3 separate regions of the Homo sapiens genome follow, and all the other regions are linked to region 3. Evidence: promoter capture Hi-C in human tissues and cell types (Jung and others, 2019). All regions are on one chromosome and are shown on one strand. The core of a region is centred on a gene start or on the middle of the fragment in contact, and the rest is flanking DNA. Distances in the headings are between cores, read along the strand shown. Region 1 overlaps CELF1 (CUGBP Elav-like family member 1). Region 2 has its middle 14 kb from the start of PACSIN3. Region 3 holds the start of MYBPC3 (myosin binding protein C3).

The links. Contacts are between HindIII fragments. The study calls those that stand out against the background at their distance.
Region 1: a contact is called between a fragment that was not itself captured here and the fragment with the promoter of MYBPC3 in region 3, in 3 of the 25 tissues and cell types used here (adrenal gland, hippocampus and mesenchymal stem cells).
Region 2: a contact is called between a fragment that was not itself captured here and the fragment with the promoter of MYBPC3 in region 3, in 1 of the 25 tissues and cell types used here (spleen).

The regions. Positions count from the first base shown.
Region 1 is chr11:47,499,526-47,502,464 of GRCh38, forward strand. CELF1 (CUGBP Elav-like family member 1) reads right to left here. Exons shown (of 15, transcript NM_001376376.1): 2 at 1,336-1,407; 3 at 1-79. Among named protein-coding and RNA genes, the nearest start is that of RAPSN, 52 kb to the left of the region's middle. The HindIII fragment of the contact is 7,858 bases long and covers 1-2,939 here.
Region 2 is chr11:47,198,835-47,201,906 of GRCh38, forward strand. No RefSeq gene overlaps it. Among named protein-coding and RNA genes, the nearest start is that of PACSIN3, 14 kb to the left of the region's middle. The HindIII fragment of the contact is 2,521 bases long and covers 154-2,674 here.
Region 3 is chr11:47,351,135-47,354,036 of GRCh38, forward strand. MYBPC3 (myosin binding protein C3) reads right to left here and starts at 1,568. Exons shown (of 35, transcript NM_000256.3): 1 at 1,489-1,568; 2 at 105-371. The coding sequence starts at 1,513. RefSeq lists enhancers at 1-211, 212-1,192. The HindIII fragment of the contact is 22,693 bases long and covers 1-2,902 here.

The sequences.
Region 1 (2,939 bases), core at 38-2,537, 150 kb after region 3:
CCTCACTCTCCCCTTCAGAAGCCAATGATATTAACTTGCTGCACTTGTCTGATCCACAAATACACACAGCTTTAGCTTCCTGGGCCCCACAAAAAACACAAAGTGGAAACAGGAGCTCAGGGAAACCAGCAATAAGTGCCACAGAAAGAGGCAGGACTGGGGAAGGGGTAGGGAAAGGGAGTATTGGATTAAAATGGGGATGTGACCATGTGAAGGGAGGCTCAGCCCAGCACACAATGAAAGTGCTGATGCGCCAGGCTTGTTTTGTGCAATTTTCCCTGGCGAAGCAGTACTAAGTGCACTGTCAGATAAATAGTGTCAGATCCATGAAGATAGCAGTGGCTAACAGAGCAGAAGAAACACAAACTTGTTTCACATCCTCCAAACTCCTCCCTGCAAACCAGTTTTTAAGGTCCCCCAAAGCCTGAAACTACCTGAAGCAAGAAAAGGCTCACCGAAGAAATGGGTTGTTAGCCTTGCTTTTAAACTTACGTTTCCATGTGCCAAAGACAGCAATGAGCACAGTGCTTAGGTCCAAACTAACCTCAGAACAGTCACATAAAGAGGAATGATAAGACCATCAGAAGCAGGCCAGAGGCAAACTGGTTGAATAAACTGGCCACCAGAAACTTACCACTCACATACAACTGCCTACAGTTGATCAGCCTTGCTTTTTTTTTTTTCTTGATATTTTCAAAAGAGCATCAATTTCTCAACTGACCTTGCTTTCTTGATGTGCTATCTAATGGTTAGAGCAAGGTGTGCTATCTAATGGTTCCTCATCTGGGTGAAAGACTTCAAAAATCCTTTGTTCAGTAACACTCATTAGATGGCACAGGGAAATTTTCTTTACTAACTCTGAAGCTTCATCTGCCAGAAAATAAAAATGGAATAGTAATATTCTGCTTCTTACTAGCATACTAGGAAATAATGTATTTTCAGTTCTCTGTTGTCCTTTCTAAAGAAACAAAGAACAAAAGCCACTTTAGTGATAATAATGAAAAAGAACTAGGGCCTACCAGGGACAACACTCAAACATGTAAGGGAAAAACCAAGAAATGAAGTCTCTTCATTCTCTTTTTCCTCCTTTAAACTGTTGATAAAACCAAGACTAGTGAGTGCACACATAAAAATTCTATTATGGGTGAGCAGTAGAGATGGATATACTTAGCAGTCAAGGCAGATGTGTGCTCCCGTTCTCAATTTAGCTCCACATCCCCCCAAACAACAAATGGCGGCATTTCAATATTTAGGCAGTGACTCTAAAATGTTATCTCTGAAGGCTCCCAAATTTCACAGGCTTTCTTTCCATTTTTATCATTAGAGTTGCCTTACCTCAAAGATTTCACTTCACCCAAGCTCAGTTCACAACACAGGGAACTTTGAAAAAAAGAAGTTATGTTCAGCCTGCAAAGAAGTAAAACGAATGAACTACTAAACACACAGAGTTAACGTTAAAAAAAAAAAAGAAAGGCAACACACAATGGCATAGGCCTAGAAGTTCTAATCTGTGTAACAATGGCTAACATCTGTCTGCACCTGACCCAGGAAGGTGAAAACTGTCTCTTCTGTCCATGTCCAGACGTCATCATCCAAAATCTAGAACTGTACTGTAACAGCAGCTTACTGCTTTTTCTATTTTTGCCAGAGACTCGCTCATCTGATTTACTACTATAGAGGCAGAAGTGGCAGGAGCTCTCTTCCACCCTATTAAAGCGGCAAAAACAAACTGCAAGTGAGAGGAGACTGTGCAACTGACACACAGTACACAGTTTACCAAGCCCATGCCTGTCAGGCAGAAGATGGTAACCCTAGCTGGGGCTGGTTAGATTACTGGCTATGTTTGTCCTAGTTTCTCCTACGTACATTGGAACTGATGGCATGCCTCTTCCTATAGAAAGCTGCCTAGACCAAAGAATAACTGAGTCGACAACCAAATTAGATCTTTTAGTGCAAGAATTCCTCTAAAAAGACATTCCAGGCTTTAAAAAGGCTGAGCAACAACAGCTCATGGTGGCTCACGCCTGTAATCAATCCCAACACTTTTGGGAGGCCAAGGCGGGCGGATCACCTGAGGTCAGAAGTTGAAGGCCAGCCTGGCTAAGATAGTGAAACCCCATCTCTACTAAAAAATATCAAAAAAAAAAATTAGCTGGGCGAGGTGGCACACGCCTGTAACCCCAGCTACTCGGGAGGCTAAGGCAGGAGAATAGCTTGAACCCAGGAGGCAGAGGCTGTGGTGAGCTGAGATCACGCCACTGCACTCCAGCCTGGGCGACAGTAAGACTCCGTCTCCCCCACCAAAAAAAAATCCTTTAAAAAGGATTCAATAAATTTCAAGGAACTTACCTAAATTTCAAGGTTATTGTGTTTTTAATATTTCCTAAAAACATATGAAATCTAATTGTATCTCTAGTTCAAATCAGAATCACATCTATAACAAAAGACTACTTAAATGGAGACATTACTGAGTTGCCAGGCACTGTCCAATGTATGAAAAGATGTGCTCTCCTTAAAATAGTTTCCACCAAGCCAAGGGCTGGGAAATATGATTTAGAGTAATGTCTTAAAATCATTTTTTCCCAGTCATAGAACTTTTGTTCAAAAGAAGTCTCCAGAGGCCCAATTTATAAAGCAGTTGAAAATAGAAAGCAGGGCCCATAAATTCTCTGTGCTTATACTGCTATTAAAGTCCATTTTATGATTTATAAAGCAACACCGCTTTAAAAACCTACAAGATGGAAATGTTATTACATGAAAGAGGGCACTTCTTCTCAGGCAGGTCACCAGAGTTATCTCAGTATAATTAAATTCAACATACTTTGGGAAAAGAGAGCACAGAAATTAATCACAAGTCAATTTTAGAAAGAGGTTATGAAGTTAAGTGATAAAAGCAATTATGGGAATACAAAAATGCAAATATTAAGGGAAATTTAAAA
Region 2 (3,072 bases), core at 164-2,663, 150 kb before region 3:
GTGGTGGCTGGCTGGGAACAGTGACGTTTATTGGTAGGATAGGAGGCAGTTTGAAGAGATCCTCATATTGAAGATCTTTCAAGAGTCAGAGGGGCTGGCTGGGCACAGTAGCGTGTGCCTGGAGCCCCAGCTACTCAGGAGGATGAGGCAGGAAAGTCACTTGAGCCCAGGAGTTTGAGGCCAGCCTAGGCAACATAGTGAGGCCTCTCTTGCCTCTATTTCCTTTAAAAAATGTAAGAGGAGGCCAGGTACAGTGGCTCACGCCTGTAATCCCAGCACTTTGGGAGACTGAGGCAGGCAAATCACCTGAAGTCAGGAGTTCAAGACCAGAATGGCCAACATGGAAAAACCCTGTCTCTACTAAAAATACAAAAATTAGCCAGGCATGGTGGCGCACACCTGTAGTCCCAGCTACTCGGGAGGCTGAGGCAGGAGAATTGCTTAAACCTGGAAGGTGGAGGTTGCAGTGAACCGAGGTCATACCACTGCACTCCACCCTGGGTGACAGGGCCAGACTCTGTCTCAAAAAAGGAAAAAAAAGGCTGGGCGCAGTGGTTCATGCCTGTAATCCCAGCACTTCTTTGGGAGGCTGAGGCAGGTGGATCACGAGGTCAGGAGATGGAGACCATCCTGGCTAACACTGTGAAACCCCGTCTCTACTAAAAATACAAAAAAATTAGCTGGGCGTGGTGGCACGTGCCTGTAGTCCCAGCTACTTTGGGAGGCTGAGGCAGGAGAATTGCTTGAACCCAGGAGTTGGTGGTTGCAGTGAGCCCAGATCGCACCACTGCACTCCAGCCTGGGCGACAGAGTGAGAGTCTGTCTAAAAAAAAAAAGGTAAGAGGGGCCAGATAAAGGGGGTGATTGGATGGCAGGCAGAAGAATCATTAATTATACTGACATTTATTTAAAATCTACTCTCCTCCTCACTGTTTCAAAGGGAACGCTCAGCCAGGCGTGGTGGCTCATGCCTGTAATCCCAGCCCTTTGAGAGGCTGAGGCAGGAGGATCACTGGAGCCAGGAATTCAAGATTACAGTGAGCTATGATCATGCCACTGCACTCCAGCCTGGGTGACAGAGCCAGACTCCTGTCTTTTTATTTTATTTTTTCCTGCGAGACAAGGTCTCATTCTGTCACCCAGACTGGGATGCAGTGGTGCGATCTCGGCTCACTGCAACCTCCACCTTCCAGGCTCAAGTAATTGTCCCCTGTCAGCCTCCTGAGTAACTGGGACTACAGGCTTGCATATGCCCAGCTAAGTTGTTGTTGTTGTTGTTATTGTTGTAGAGACAGAGTCTCACCAAGTTGCCCAGGCGGGTCTCAAACGCCTGGGCTCAAGCAATCTGCCCACCTTGGCCTCCCAAAGTGCTAGGATTACAGGTGTAAGCCACTGTGCCCGGCCTAGACGCCTGTCTTAAAAAAAACAAAAACAAAAAAGAAATGCTGAAATGGAAAATACTCTTTGCTCCCAATGGACTGTCTCTTCTAAGAGTGGGAGACAAGTAAACCTACAACTACAATGGAACGCGATAAGCTTGCTGAGAGAAGAGGCATGGAGGGAGGGGGGGCACAGAAAAGGGGCACTTTAAGTCAGCTTAGGATGGGGTAAAGAATGAACAGTGTTGGCTGGGCACGGTGGCTCATGCCTGTAATTCCAGCACTTTGGGAGGCCGAGGCAGGCAGATCACCTGAGGTCTGGAGTTCAAGACCAGCCTGACCAGCATGGAGAAACCCTGTCTCTACTAAAAATACAAAATTAGCTGGGTGTGGTGGCACATGCCTGTAATCCCATCTACTCTGGAGGCTGAGGCAGGAGAATGGCTTGAACCCGGGAGGTGGAGGTTGCTGTGAGCCGAGATTGCGCCATTGCACTCCAGCCTGGGCAACAAGAGCGAAACTCCGTCTCAAAAAAATAAATAAATAAAAAGAATGAACAGTGTTGGCCGGGCGTGGTGACTCACACCTGTAATCCCAGCACTTTGCAATCCCAGCACTTTGGGAGGGTAAGGCAGGAGGATCACTTGAGGCCAGGAGTTCAAGACCAGCCTGGGCAACATAGCAAGACCATGACTCTAGAACAAAACAAAAAAACAAAACAAAAAAATACTGGGGCATGGTGGCTTGCACCTGTAGTTTCAGCTACTGGGGAGGCTGATGTGGAGGGACCACTTGAGTTCAAGGCTGTAGTGAGCTGCAATTATGCCACTGCACTCCAGCCTGGGCAACAGAGAGAGACCCTGCCTCAAAAAAAAAAAGAAAAGAAAAGAAAAGAAAAGAAAGAAAGAAAAAGGAAAAGATAGTGTCAAGGAAGTCTTCCCAAAGAAGGTGACACTTAAGCTGAATCTTGAGATTGATCGAGGGGGAGGGGGAGGGTGCTCCAGGCAGAGGCAGCAGGAAATGCATGGGCAGGGAGGCCGCCTCTAGCTATAATGGATTTATGAGCAAGGCAAATGTCCTGCTTAATGCCACATTTTCCCAGAATGCATTTTTAGGATTTGAGAGGTTTTCCATGGTGGATAGAAAGAACCATGTGCGGGCCAGGCACGGTGGCTCATGCCTGTAATCCTGGCACTTTGGGAGGCCAAGATGGGTGGATCACTGGACGTCAGGAGTTTGAGACCAGCCTGGCCAACATGATGACGCCCCATCTCTACTAAAAATACAAAACTTAGGTGTGGTGAACCTGTAGTCCCAGCTACTTGGGAGGCTGAGGCAGGAGAATCACTTGAACCTGGGAGGCAGTGGTTACAGTGAGCCAAGATCGCACCACTGGACTCCAGCCTGGGCAACAGAGGGAGACCATCTCAAAAAAAAAAACAACAAAAGAACCATGTTCGAGCAGTGGAGACCTGCCTTGCACACTCCAGTAAAGCGCTTTGTTTCAGGCTGTGCTTTGAGGCATCTTAACTAACCCCAGGTTTTACTTCGGCTCCCTTTGCTACATAGCAAAACCACTTCCTAGGGGCTTAAAGTCATTCATTCCCATCTGATGAGCCCCCAGATGCAGGGTGGACAAAAAACTTTAATACTTTTTTTTTGAGACAAGGTCTCACTTTGTTGCCCAGGCTGC
Region 3 (2,902 bases), core at 318-2,817:
AAGAAAGTGTGAAAGCACCTCCTGTTCCCTGGATGGATGGAGAGTCGCTGGGCTGCCCCTCCCCCAGCAGCCCAAACCTCAGGGAAGGCTGATCAGGATCTTACCTGCCTCTATGACCTTGAGGTCGAACTTGACCTTGGAGGAGCCAGCAATGACTGCGTAAGATCCCTGGTCGGCAGGGCCCACTTCCCGCACTGTCAGCGTATGCCGTGTGCCCTCTGTGGCCAGGCCGTACTTGTTGCTGGCGCTGATGTCACTGCCTCCGCGCTGCCAGCGCACCTTCACTCCTGCCCGCTCTGTCTCGGCCTCGAACACGGCAGGGCTGCCTGCGGCCACTTCCACTGACCGTGGCTTCTTGCTAAAAGCTGAGACTGAAGGGCCAGGTGGAGGCTACAGCGGCCCCTGGTTGGAGCGTGCACCCCGCCCCTGCAGCCCCTCTCAGTAAATACTGTGCTAGCACTTTCTATGCATCCCCTCACGTAATACTCTACCAGTTCTCTGAGGTAGTTGCAGTTATTCTGTTCATTTCTCAGAGGAGGACACTGAGGCTCAGAGAAGCTAAGCGGCTCCTCCAAGATCACACAGCTAGCAGTCGGGAGAGCCAGGGCTGTGGTCCTGACCTCCCAACAAGACTTTTTCTGCATGTGTCCACTTTCCCTGCTTGGAGACACCCGTGATGAACCCAGCTCCCTTTCCCCCAACCATTTCGGGCCCTTGGCAGGGGGCGGGGAAGTCTGCCTACTTGGAATGTGGCCAAATTTGTCCTCCAAGGACCTCAGGCTGGGTATCAGCAACTGAGATAAAGCTGGCCTGGGAGGGCGCTGGGGGATGGGGACCTGGATCTCTGCCCTGGACAACCTTCATAAGGGCACAGCCCAGGCCCAGGTCCCTGGGCTGTGATTTTCCCTGCCCTTGGCCTGGGTTCAGGGGCTCCTGACTGTCCTCTCTCAGAGAAGAGGGGCTGTGTCACCCTCAACATGGGGGCCACACCGTACAGGCTCATGAAGCAGATAATGTCACAGCCAGGAGGAACCAACCCAATGCCACCACCACCCCCGGCACCCCAGGTTGGGAGACTGAGACCCATAGTGGGTAGAGACTGGTCTGAAGGCATGCCGTGAGCCTGGCTCAGCTCCATACTAAACGTGGGCTCTGTCCGCGGGGAACCTTGCTGTGGAAGGTGAAGGCAATGGGACAGGGAAGGGGTCCCTTTGCATTCTCAGAATGGGTTGACCCCGGGTGCTTCCTGTCTTGGCTGTGTCCCCTCTCTGCGTCCCTGACCTTGGGTTTACCTTCACCTCTCATCAGAGGGATGGGAAAAAGAAACCGAGAATCAAAAAAGGACCCTGGAGGACTGGCTGCCCCTGTCCTGGGGCTCAGAGGCCACGTCCTCGTCAACCCCCTCAAGAACTCCCTCCTAGCCCTGCTCCCCAATTGTAGACACCCCCCTGCTCCCACACTTAGACCCAACCCCAGTCCTAAAGCTACCTGGCTTCTTCCCCGGCTCAGGCATCCTGAGAGACGTCACACCAGGCACGAAGCAGGCACAGGTCACCCAAAGAGGGACTGAGTGGGGTCCTGTCCTTCCCACTATATATGGGGACCTCCCCCCTCCCCAGGCTCTGCTTATCTGCCTCCTGTCCAGCCACCTGCTAAATATAGATGAATTCCAGAGAGCTGAGGTCTCTCCAGGGAGAAGGTAGGGCCACATTGTCCCTGGCTGGCTCCTGTCCCTTCCCCCCTCACCCCCCGCAGCACAATTCTGCCTCCCCAACCTTTGGCAAGCCTCAGGGGTACTCCAAGCCCCGTGTGTGTCCCTCTTACAGCAAATTGTACGGTGGGAGCATGCTGGGCCCATAACCCTAAGGCTAACGGGTCAGGAGCATCCTCGCAGGCAGTTCAGGCAGTGGTCATGTCCACAGACCCTGGGGCCAGGGTGTCTCTGAGTCCTAGCACTGCCATCTCTTTAATCTCAAAGCACCTGGTTTCCTCATCTGTAAAGCGGGGTGGGTGAAAGCAGCACCCACTGCACAGGATTGTCACACGTATGAAGTGGGTTTATAATTTTAAAAATGTTAGGCCGGGTGTGGTGGCTCATCTGTAATCCCAGCACTTTGGGAGGCCGAGGCAGGCAGATTATTTGAGGCCAGGAGTTTGAGACCAGCCTGGGCAACATGGCAAAACCCCATCTCTACTAAAAAAATAAAAAATAAAATAAATACACACACACACACAAATTAGCCAGGTGTGGTGGTGTGGACCTGTAGTATCAGCTACCCAGGAGGCTGAGGTGGGAGGATCGCTTGAGTCCAAGGAGTTCCGGGCTGCAGTGAGCCAAAATCGCACCACTGCACTGCAGCCTGGGTGACAGAGTGATAATAATAATAAAAATATTATTTATTATTATTTTTTATTATTAATATCTCAAAGAATAATAATAAAAAAATAAAAATGGGCTGGGCGAAGTGGCTCACACCTGTAATCCCAGCACTTTGGGAGGCTGAGGCGGGCAGATCACTTGAGCTCAGGAGTTCGAGACCAGCCTGGGCAACATGATGAAACCCCATCTGTACAAAAAATACAAAAATCAGTCAGGCATGTGACGCACACCTGTAGTCCCAGATGCTCGGGAGGCTGAGGCAGGAGAATCACTTGAGCCCGGGGGGTCAGGGCTGCAGTGAGCCATGTTCGTGCCACTGCACTCCAGCCTGGGCAACAAAGTAAGACCCTGTCTCAAAAAAAAAAAAATAAAAATAGAAGAATGAAGACACAACACCATTTTGCCTTCTCTTGTGGCCCTGCAGTAGGACTAGGGAGCTGCAGGGTTGGGCTGCAGTGAGCCCTCTGGGGTTGAGGAGGTGTGGGGCGGGTATTTGTCCCTACGATAATGGCCCCAGAATCT